Regions from separate parts of the Homo sapiens genome. Here all the other regions are linked to region 1. Evidence: promoter capture Hi-C in 16 types of primary human blood cells and fetal thymus (Javierre and others, 2016). All regions are on one chromosome and are shown on one strand. Each heading gives the region's core, a stretch centred on a gene start or on the middle of the fragment in contact. The rest is flanking DNA. Distances are from core to core; before and after follow the strand shown.

What was found. The method cuts DNA at HindIII sites, captures the fragments that hold promoters and counts their contacts. A CHiCAGO score of 5 or more calls a contact.
Region 2: a fragment that was not itself captured here is called in contact with the fragment with the promoter of TIGD6 in region 1 in 16 of 17 cell types (erythroblasts, M2 macrophages, M0 macrophages and 13 more); the score reaches 19.3 in erythroblasts.
Region 3: a fragment that was not itself captured here is called in contact with the fragment with the promoter of TIGD6 in region 1 in 6 of 17 cell types (erythroblasts, M0 macrophages, M2 macrophages and 3 more); the score reaches 14.2 in erythroblasts.
Region 4: a fragment that was not itself captured here is called in contact with the fragment with the promoter of TIGD6 in region 1 in 4 of 17 cell types (erythroblasts, endothelial precursors, M1 macrophages and 1 more); the score reaches 10.5 in erythroblasts.

Annotation. Positions count from the first base shown.
Region 1 is chr5:149,999,149-150,001,923 of GRCh38, forward strand. It overlaps TIGD6 (tigger transposable element derived 6), which reads right to left and starts at 1,506. Exons shown (of 2, transcript NM_030953.4): 1 at 1,326-1,506. It overlaps HMGXB3 (HMG-box containing 3), which reads left to right and starts at 1,591. Exons shown (of 20, transcript NM_014983.3): 1 at 1,591-2,031. RefSeq lists enhancers at 730-1,518, 2,406-2,485 and a silencer at 1,246-1,325. The HindIII fragment of the contact is 5,274 bases long and covers 1-2,775 here.
Region 2 is chr5:149,635,079-149,637,785 of GRCh38, forward strand. LOC124901104 reads right to left here. Exons shown (of 3, transcript XR_007058990.1): 3 at 2,165-2,707. Among named protein-coding and RNA genes, the nearest start is that of ARHGEF37, 55 kb to the left of the region's middle. The HindIII fragment of the contact is 4,308 bases long and covers 1-2,707 here.
Region 3 is chr5:149,618,356-149,621,131 of GRCh38, forward strand. It overlaps ARHGEF37 (Rho guanine nucleotide exchange factor 37), which reads left to right. Exons shown (of 13, transcript NM_001001669.3): 7 at 583-687; 8 at 1,999-2,109. Among named protein-coding and RNA genes, the nearest start is that of ARHGEF37, 38 kb to the left of the region's middle. RefSeq lists an enhancer at 1-3. The HindIII fragment of the contact is 5,427 bases long and covers 1-2,776 here.
Region 4 is chr5:149,665,415-149,668,114 of GRCh38, forward strand. No RefSeq gene overlaps it. Among named protein-coding and RNA genes, the nearest start is that of PPARGC1B, 64 kb to the right of the region's middle. The HindIII fragment of the contact is 1,104 bases long and covers 773-1,876 here.

The DNA.
Region 1 (2,775 bases), core at 256-2,755:
TTGCTTTGGGGGCATTAAGAGGCTTTTGACGGTTTTTTGGTTTTGTTTTTCTGGAATGACATGATCAGATTTACAATATAGTCTTTTGGTTGCAGGGTAGAGAACCTAATGGGTAAAGTTGATTTTCCTAAGAGATGGCCTTAAATCTGAAGATAAAAGCAGGCTAAACCAGTAGGCCATATACAGTTTGGATGTTAATTTGAGTGCAATAGGAAGCTATTGAAGGATTTTAAGGAAGGAGAGATGACTGCTGTGTAAAGAATGGAAGGGTATCAGAGAAAAAAGCAGGAGTCCACATGAGATAATGGTGGCTTGGATTAGAGTAGTAATAGAGAGATGGTGAGTAGTAGTCAGTCTGGGGCTATGTTTTTGCAAGCCCTGTGCTGGACCGGATGTGAGGTGAAGGAGGAGTCAAGGATAACGCCCAGGTTTCTGGTTTGAGCACTGAGGAATCCAGCAGATGATGGTGCCATTTACTGAGGTGGGAGGATCTACTGCGTAAACCTCATTTGTTAAGCACTTTACTTGCTTAATATTGCTTACTTGTGGCAGGGCTGGGATTCAAACCCAGGAGGCTCACAACAAAGCTAGCACTCCAAACACTACAGAGTGCTATATAGCTGGTTCTGGGAACTACTAATATTGAGAGGAGACATAGAAAGAGAATGAAGCAAGAGCCAAATCAGACAAGTCTTGGTCAAGCTAAGACGTCTGAATTTTATTTTAAGTGAATGAGACACTGGAGGGTTTTAAGCAGGGAGTGACTTGATCAGACTTACAGTGCAAAATGATCAATCTGACTGCTTCGTGGAGAATGGATTGTAGAGGGGATGTGGGGAGAACTACATCAGTCCAGGCAGGAGATGATGGTGGCTAGAAGGTTGGTGATGGCGGTAGATGCAGAGAAGTAGGCAGACTGGAATACAGTGAGGGTTGTGCGGGAACTTGTACAAATGTGGACAACTTGTGACACTGGAGAGAAAGGACAATCCAATCCAATCCCTATTTGATTTACGGAAGCTCTCCATACGGTCATTCAGCTCAGCTTGAGTCACTCCAGGAACTCACTACCATCACTATTCGTGGGCCAGTGGGAGAGACGGATTGAGGGCAGATCACTGGAGTGATGAAGGCGCTACTTGATGCGGCACTACGTATGAACCCGATCCTGAATGAGAGGGAAAGACTGAGACAGGCTGAGGTCAGGCCTTGAACGTCGTGCTGAGGAGAGGGTGGTATTGTAGGCTTCCCAGCGCCCGACGTGGCTCTGAAAGGTGAGGCGGGGCCTAGATCCCTCACGCTCAGCACAGCCCCGCCCCTGTTACCTGAACGCCCCACAGCAGTGCCCGGGGGCTGAGCGGCCGGGGCGTCCCACCGCCGGCAGCCACAGCTTCCTCCTCCGCCCGGGACCTCTGGCCGGAAGCAGTCCGTTCGCCTTACTAGACCCGCTCCAAGCCTTTGAGCAGTTCGTGTGGGTCCGCTCCCAAGCTAGGGCTGGGCTGTTGCGCTTGCGCCAGGGGTCGCATGCAGTCACGCGCTGCCGACCGCTTCCGGTGCGCCGCGAGGGCCGCCGGGACGGGTCTCCCTGGCGATCCGTGGTGTGCCGCTACTGCCGGTGCAGCCGCCAAACCGGTGCCTCGGTGACGACCGTGTCCCTGCCGTCTTCCTCGAGCTCCCCGGGGCTTGACCCCCGGGGCCCTCGGCAGGCATCGGTGAGGAGCCTGCGGAGCGAACCTGTGCTCCTATTCTTGCCCTTCAGGACCCCATATCGCGACTCCGAGGAGGGGAAGCGAGAGGGGCTGTCGCGACTCCGCGCCGTGTGTCGCCGGGCGGGGCCGCGGGGCCGGGGCTCCTTCAGCCCCCGGGATGCGCGCGCGAGCCCTCGCCTCCACTTCCTTGTTGCTGCTGTCACGACTGGAGCCGCCTCTCGCCGACAGCGGGGAGCGCGAGTGCGCCAGCCATCCCCCTCGTCCAGCCGCCGGGCCAAGCGCCTCCGGGAATGTGAGCGGCGCAGCTTGCACGCTCCTCCGGGTAAGTCCCGCCTTCGAGGGCCGCGCCGAGCCGCTGGGCGACCTCGAGTTGGATGCTGCGGCTCTCTGAGCCTCTACTGAGTCTTCCACAAAGTAGGGCCACTGAGCCTTAGTGTCCTCCTTCCGCAATCCGTATGGGACATTCGGATGTCCCAGACGTCTTAGCTTGACCAAGACTTTGTCTGGTTTGGCTCTTGCTTCATTCATGACCCAGAATGAGGGAAAGGAGCTAGCCCAGAGTCAAACTGTGGCCCATGGCTGAGCCCTCAAAGGCAATCTCGTGAGATTCCAAGGAGGATCTGATGGGACAGAGAAAGTGTCTCGCATATTTCAGGTATTGACCTTAACTCTGTTTTACAGATGAAATAACGGAGACTTAGGGTAAGTAGATTGCTTAAGGTCAGAGGTCCCCGTGCTGGTGCGACTGGTGTAGTCTGTACTAGAACCCGGATTTTCTGTCCTCTAGAGCCCTTCGTTTTTAACCTTAAATTGTCCTGCCTTTTTTTGCATTGCTATACTGCTGCCTCGAGTCTGATAACAAACTTGTACTCAGGCTTAGAACAGGGTAATAAAACAAACAAAACCGTAGGGTGTTGTCTTCCTGCCCTCAGCCCAAGGTGGCTGTAATGAGTGTTTCCTAACCCGTTTTGCGCAGGGTGCTTAGTACCCTATATGCCATTCATTACAGATGCTCTCCTGCAGTTACTGCCCTTCTCCACAAGGCTTTCAGCCGCCCAGAAGTCAA
Region 2 (2,707 bases), core at 12-2,511, 360 kb before region 1:
TCCATTTAATGGACACCCTTCACGCCTCAGGGAGCTGGCCTGAGCTGCTGGGGGATACAGAAAGAAATCAGACAGATGAGGCCCGGTCTTCCAGATCCCAGTCTCTAAGGCAGGCAGATGAGGCACCCATCAATTACGTGCCGTGTAAGTGTCAGGATGAAGTAATGGCAGGTGCCACGCAAGCCAGGGAAGAGGCCTACCTCTGTCTCAGACTTGGCGGCCAAGGAAGGCTTCCTGGAAGAGGTGATATCCAAGCTGAGGCCCAGTGGGTGGTTAGGTGAAGATGGCAGAGAGAGAACATTTGGAGGCCCAGAAGTGCAGCAAACATGGAAAGGAGCCTTGGATTTTATTCTGAGGGCAGTGGGGGAGGCATGAAAGGGTTTGAAACAGAGGAGTGATGTGCTCAGGGTTGTACTTTGGGAAGATCACTAGGCTCTGACTGTGTGCCTGTTGCGCCCACAGGCAACTGCATGCTCCTTGAGGCTGAGAACTTCTGATTCATCCCAGAATCTCCCTAAGCCTTTGTCATGTGCCTCAAGTACTAGATGTTCAATACATATTGCTTAGTAAGCATCCCAGAGAGGATAGGAACACCAAAGCCTTGCCTTCAAGGACTCTCCTGGCCGACTGGAGAGTCAGACATCAAGCAGTTATCTGGCCCTACAGGAAAAGATGCCCTCAGCCCCAGAGGGGTGCTATGGACCAGGCATATAGGTGCTCAGACAAGGGAGAGATTTGGGAAGGCTGAGGTGGCCAGGGGCAGTTTCCTGAGGAAGGTGGTGCAGGTGCTGGGCCTTGTGGGATACATAAGATTGGAGAGAGTAATCCGGCTGGGTGTGGTGGCTCACACCTGTAATCCCAGCACTTTGGAGGGCAAGGCAGATGGATCACTTGAGGTCAGGAGTTCAAGACCATCCTGGCCAACATGGTGAAATCCTGTCTCTGCTAAAAATACAAAAAATTAGCTGGGCATGGTGGCGTGCGCCTGTAATCCCAGCTACTCGGGAGGCTCAGGTAGGAGAATTGCTTGAAACTGGGAGGCAGAGGTTGTAGTGAGCCGAGATCACCATGCCATTGAACACCAGCCTGGGTGACGAAGCAAGACTCTTGCCTCAAAAAAATAAAAATAAAGCAATCCTATGGGATTACTCTGTCATCTACAGGATGGAGGCCTTCTCAGGCCTGGGAGGCAGTGTGGTGGCATGAAAAGGCCCAGCACTTGGCCTCAGAAAATCTAAGTCCACACCAGGCCCCAGTACCTCATGCCTGTAGTCCCAGCTACCCAGGAGGATTTCTTGAGCCCAGGAGGTCGAGGCTGCAGTGAGCTGTGATTGCGCCGCTACACTCCAGTCTGGGTGACAGACGGAGACCCTGTTTTTATTTATTTATTTATTTATTTATTTTTATTTTTTTAAAAAAGAAAAAGAAAAAAAATCTGAGTCCAAGACCTACTTGGCCATAGGCAAGCAGCAAATGTCTTGACTATGGATGGACCGTGGTTTCTATGTATGAAGACATCTGCTGATGGCCCCCAGGCTGCTCTGTCCTCCCACTCAGACTCAAAAGTACTCACTGCAGAGTTCTGGCCATCTCAAGGGTGTGGCAGGACAGAGCCTAAAATACCCTGGGCTGGGGCAAAGGAAAGAGCTGGATTCCACTCTGGCAACATCATGGAATCTGGGATCCTGAATGATTTATTCACTTAACCTTGCTCATTTTTTTTTCTTATCTATAATTACCCAACTTACCTTTTCTGTTTTCTCATCTGTAAAATGGATACAATAATTCCTGTTCTCCCAGGGTTGGTAAAAGGATTAAATAAGGGACAATCAGTGTGCCTGGTGGTAGATGTACCAGGAATATCACTGATATGCATTGATGGCACAGAAGAACTGTGACCACCAGGTGGCAGCAGGGGATCAGCTAAGGGACGGCTGGGAAGCGCCTTTGGGATCAATGCGAAACGCCCATGGTGCCAGGCAGTTAGTGGAGATGAGAGGAAGGGCCAAGTGAAAGGCATTAGGGGGTGGTGGGGACTGTGTTGACCAGAGCATGCACACTCAGTCTAAAAAGCTGTAGCTTCTTGGCTCCAACCAACTGTTCCCACATCAGAAGGAGGGTGCCGTGGTACCATTCTGATATTTCAAGAGAAGCCGCCAGGAACCAGAGTTTTTGTTTGTTTATTTATTATTATTATTATTATTATTATTATTATTATTGACAGAGTCTCGCTCTGTCTTACCCAGGCTGGAGTGCAGTGGCACGATCTCGGCTTACTGCAGCCTCTGCCTCCTGGGTTCAAGCAATTCTCCTGTCTCAGCCTCCCGAGTAGCTGGGATTGCAGACATGTGCCACCACACCTGGCTAATTTTGTGTTTTTAACAGAGATGGGGTTTCACCATGTTAGCCAGGCTGGTCTCAAACTCCTGACCTCAGGTGATCCACTCGCCTCGGCTTCATAAAGTGCTGGAAATACAGGCGTGAGCCACCGCGCCCGGCCTATTTTTATTTTTTGATGTGACATCTTCCATGTGGAGATCGCGTAGTCCACAACAGTTTGCCTCCTTGCATATTCTGCCTGAATGTGGGTTGAGTGTTCTTGGTGGAGATCTTCTCTGAAGAATTACTTTCGTATCTTCGTATTTCCTGTGAAATCCCTTTCTCCATCGTCACTTTAATCATCCCTTCATCAGACATTAATTTCCCT
Region 3 (2,776 bases), core at 5-2,504, 380 kb before region 1:
AGGCCCTGCACAGTGGGTAGACAGGGGACTTAGGCTCCTTTCAGAACTGAGGCAATGGAGGCTGAGAGATTGAGGTGCTGGGAAGAGGCAGAGGTGGCACCCCACTTGATTCTGAAGAGCCAGTGGAGGGGTTTCTCCAGTGTCTTGGGCCACTCTCTTTGGGGCCTATTTACACAGATAGGAGAGCTGGTCTCTGGGTTTGGGCAAAGGACCAGCCCTAAATAGCTACTTCTAGCAGCACAGGTTGGTGGAGTGCCTGCTCTGAAACCAAGCATGCTCACACAATGAAATAAGTGTTCCCACTATCCCCATGAGAAAACAGAAACTCCGAGAGGGTAAAACCCTTGTCCAGAGTCACACGGCTAGGAAGCCAATGAACTGGGGCTCATGCTTGTGTATCCGATTCCATGCTCTGAATGTAAAACCACTGAGCTACACCACCCTCTCAGCTTTGGGGTTGCGAGAACCAGCTCTGGTGGGCGAGTCTGTGGAAAGGTTGTCCCAGTGAGGACCTGGAACACTGAAGCCGGTGTACACTGCCCCCATGTGGATATTCTCAACCCTCACACACATTACTTTCAGACAGAAGACAAGGAATTTGATGATTTAGAAGAGAGGTTCCAGTGGGTGTCTCTGTGTGTGACTGAGCTGAAGAACAACGTGGCTGCTTACCTGGACAATCTGCAGGTGAGGACACTGCAGGGTTCATAAAGGGCGAGTCTGGGCTGGGTTCCCCTGGCAGGAGGCTTGCAGGGCCCAGCCTACAAGCTGGGAAAGGCACCAGCCTCAGAAACCAACCAGATGAGGTCATCCTGTCTCATCTCTTCTGGAGAATGCTGGCCAGCACTCCTCAGCCCCAGGCCATTATACTGGGGGCAGCTCCGAGCCCATTGGAGTTCCTACCACATAGGGCCAAAATTCACTGGAAGCAGAGCCCCGCAGAGCAACTCTGCCAGACCAGCACCTAGAGCAGGGGAGACAAACAGGTGCCTAAAGGGGCCAGGCAGGTAATGCTACTGAGTGAAGTGTGCAGGTAACAGGCAATCCAATGCAATAGGAGCCTAGTGTCTAACAGGCTGTTTATGAGACTTTTCAGTGAACTTAAATATAAAATAATATTTGGAATTTGAAGGGCTGAATGAATGAATACATGAATCAAATCTAAAGGAGCAGCTATTCCTCAGCTCTGGGGGGTTGTTGCTGGGTGAGAATATGGGCCCAGTTCTTCTGACTTTAAGAAAAACACACCTGGAAATTCAGGTATTTTTCAGATTTTTGATGACATCTCCTGATGCGTCAATGTGAGCAACTAATTAAATGAAGATTTAAATGCTATGGGGCATTTTTTTAATGCATTGATGTAAATAGGAAAAGTTAGAGAAAAGTATTAATAGAACATGTGGAATATGGACATGGGAAAAAACAAACGCACTGCTGGGTGCAGTGGCTTACGCCTGTAATCCCAGAATTTTGGAAGGCCGAGGCGGGAAGATCACTTGAGGTCAGGAGTTCAAGACCAGCCTGGTCAACATGGTGAAACCTTGTGTCTACTAAAAATACGAAAAACATTAGCCAGGCAAGGTGTCACACGCCTGTAGTCCCAGCTACTCAGGAGGCTGAGGCAGGAGAATTGCTTGAACCTGGGAGGCAGAGATTGCAATGAGCCAAGATCATGCCACTGCACACCAGCCTGGGTGACAGAGTGAGACTCTGTCTCAAAAAAAAAAAAAAAGAAAAAGAAAAAAACCCCACAAAGGTGGCATGTAAATGTATGAAGTTCAAGAAGCACTGGAATGAGGAGAAAGATGTTGACTCAGTCTAAGGCGGAACTTTCTAATCACTTAAGCTGTGTGAGAATAGAATCAGCTGTGTGTGTCCCTCTCATTGGGGGTGTGTAGAGAGCCTGGAAAACCTCTTCAAGGTATGGTGGAAGGGGATTCCAGCGTAAGATGGCCATGACAGGCATGATTGGATGTTTCTCCTTGGTACTGGGTCCAGGCTTTCCTCTACTTCAGGCCGCACGAATACAATCTGGACATCCCCGAGGGGCCTGCAGTGCAGTATTGCAATTTGGCAAGAGACCTTCACCTTGAGGCCTTCCTGAAATTTGTGAGTGGAACCTTTCCTTTCTCCTTTCTTTGTTAGGCAGGTGGTAGAGCTTACAAGAATAATATTTAGAAGTCAGGCACTTTGGCCAGGCGTGGTGGCTCACGCCTGTAATCCCAGCACTTTGGGAGGCCGAGGCAGGCAGATTGCCTGAGCTCAGGAGTTTGAGACCAGCCTGGGCAATACGATGAAACCCCGTCTCTACTAAAAATACAGAAAATTAGCCGGGCATGGCAGTGTGCACCTGTAGTCCCAGCTACTCAGGAGGCTGAGGCAGGAGAATTGCTTGAACCCAGGAGGCAGAGGTTGCAGTGAGCCGAGATCATGCCACCGCACTCCAGCCCGGAGACAGAGTGAGACTCCTTCTCAAAAAAAGAAGTCAGGCACTTTACACAATTGCCACATCTGTAATCTTCCTGAGTGGTCAGCAGCATAGAGATTATTATTAGTGCACTTTCCTGATAAAAATAGCCCCCACTAACATTTATTGAGCCTCACTATCTGCCAGGCTCTATGCTAAGCCCTTTATATTCCTTACATCATTTAATCCTCACCATATGGTTTTGGGGGTGGCTACTTTGAATAACCCCATTCTGCAGGTGAGAGATTGAGGCTCAGAGGGGGTCACCTCCTGGGTCATTTATACAGATGGTCAGTGATAAGCTGGGAT
Region 4 (2,700 bases), core at 75-2,574, 330 kb before region 1:
TTATTTAGGGAACTCTTTATGCTCACTCCGTGTAATTTGGGTGGGGCTGAACCAACCCTGGATGCAAAATTGAACACAAGAAACAGATCTGGCCAATCAGAAAATTCCATTTTTCTGGTCACAGTGATTGGTTCAGAGATGGGCAAGTGGCCCAAAGTTAAGCCAATGAACGTCAGCCTCAAGATTTTTGCTGATGCTATCAGGAGAGAGGTGCTGTCTCTGGGCTGGGCTTGTTACCTGCAGAACTACACTTAGAGCTGCTGGTTGACTTTTGTCAATACATAGAGCAAGCCAGCCTGAGAACAAAGCTAAGATGGGCAGAAGTAGAGCTGAGAATTGGAGACTGGTTCCTGATGGCAGTGTTTACACCAGATTCATATCTACCCTTGGCCTTTTCAATTAAATAAACTCAAAATTCCCTCTTTTGCTTTGGCTGGTTTGTGTCGATAAGAGTCATTGAAAAGCAGTGTTAGCAGAGGGAAGCTTCCTGTCAGATTCTCTGAGCATTTCATGAAGATTTCATTTCCACCCACTCTGCGGTGCACTTACAACCCTCTGCTCCCAGCTGTCCAGGGGCAGTCTGCCTCTCTGGCTTGCTGGCTCTCAACACCTCTCTGAGTGAGATATCCGACCCCCTAGGTCTTCTCTCCTCCCCTTGGCAACCCACCCCTCTAAATTCCAGCCCCTGAGGATCCAAGCCCATGGCCTGGTGTTAACTCCCATCCCCTTTATGACTGTAATGTGTCCCAGACACAACAGTTGATGTTCTTTAAGCTTTGATGAGTACTTCCTATTTGCCAGACTCTGTGCCAGCCTCATTACATACATAATCTCATCGAATCTTCTCAATAATGCTGTTGGGTAGGTTTTATGATTATTATTCCCATTTTCAAGAATAGAAACCAGTGGCTTAGGGAGATGAAGTAACTGGCCTGAGACCAAACAGCTGAGTCACACACAGTGGGAGGCAGGGCTAGACAGAGTTGTAGGAGGGAACTAACCCCAGGGCCTGTGCCCCAATCGCCACACCAGTGCTTCTAACCCAAGTGAGCCCCAGGATCACCAGGGCACAGGAGCCCATTCCAGGGACCCACATCCCCTGAGTGAGGATGGGAAGGTCTGGGAATCTGCTTTGTTAAATACCCCAGGGGATACTGAAGCATGAGGTCCCCAGGACCTTACACTGACAGTAGCCACTGTCTCCCCCATTAAGGACTTTGGCGCTAGAAAGGAGTTTGGCATTGCCAGATCTATTATTGCAGGAGCTGAAGCTCTGCCCTAGCTCAGAAATGATGACAACGCTAGACAAACTTCTTTGCTGACACAGGGAAAGGAGAGATCAAGGGCATGTGGATAAGCAACTCATGCCTGGGAATAAAACAAAAATTTAAAGAATAACATCATTCCACTCTTCAGGGGGTGGGTTGTGAGTGTCTGGACTCTAAGAGGTAAGAGGTATAAGCCAGGGCCCAGGAGAAATTCAAATTCTATAGGCTTTCTTCATTTGTCCCTGAAAAGAAATGGCTCTCACAGCCCCATGAATGAAGTTCAAAGTTATTATTATTATTTTTTTAGACAGAGTCTCACTCTGTCACCCAGGCTGGAGTACAACGGTGCAATCTCAGCTCACTGCAACCGCCACCTCCCAGGTTCAAGCAATTCTCCTGCCTCATCCTCCCAAGTAGCTGGGACTGCAGGCACCTGTCACCACACCTAACTTTTTTTTTTGTATTTTTAGTAGAAACAGGGTTTCACCATGTTGGCCAGGCTGGTCTAAAACTCCTGACCTCAGGTGATCCACCTGCCTCAGCCTCCCAATGTGCTGGGATTACAGGCATGAGCCACCGCACCCTGCCAAGTTCAAAGTTCTTAACAAAGCTTTGCACCCAACATGAGCTGGTTGTGCTCTCTTGACACCTGGCTTTTAGGCATACCTCACCTTTCTGCCTGAAATGCTGTCTGTTTCCTTCCCCTCCTTTGCTTAACAAACTTCTGCTTATCCTTCAGATCCCAGCATTAATGGCCCTCCCTCTGGGAAGCCTCCTCCAATCACCAAATCTAGATTAGGTGTCCTTCCTCAGGGCTCCCTTACCTCCCTTAATATGTCTTGATTGTACCTCTCATATTGTATTTTATGTGTTTAATTCACCCTGCTATACTGTGAGGTTCCTGAAGGAAGGGCCGTGTCTATCGTGTTCTCTATTATATTCTCAGCACCAGACATATTATAACAATGAGTTAGTGAAAGCTTAATAAAACCAAAACAGAAAGCCCCAGGCAGTTACATGCAGTAATCATATTGACCACTAGATGGCACACGACTATGACGTCCCAATTGGGATGGGCTGGGAGAGGGGCGTGAAATTGATGAGCAGGTTGGTGGAAGGAGGCCGGGGGGCCTCTGATCTTCTCCAGACTGACAGCTGGAGACCTTCGTGATCCTTAAATTTGTATGTGTGGAAATCTTTGTTCAGGTAATTGCCTTACTCCAGAACCCCATTTCCATTAAGGGTTACGTCTTCATGCTACACATTAAACACTTTTTGATGTCTCTGAAGTTTCTTCTCTCGCTTACCAAAGAGGTGTTTTCTGTTATTAGTGTTGCTGTTGATTGCTTGAAATGGTTTTATAGATTGCTTTTTCTTATTACTCGTTAGGAATTAGGTGGAGTCTGTCACTTTTAGGCTCTGAGCCACCACT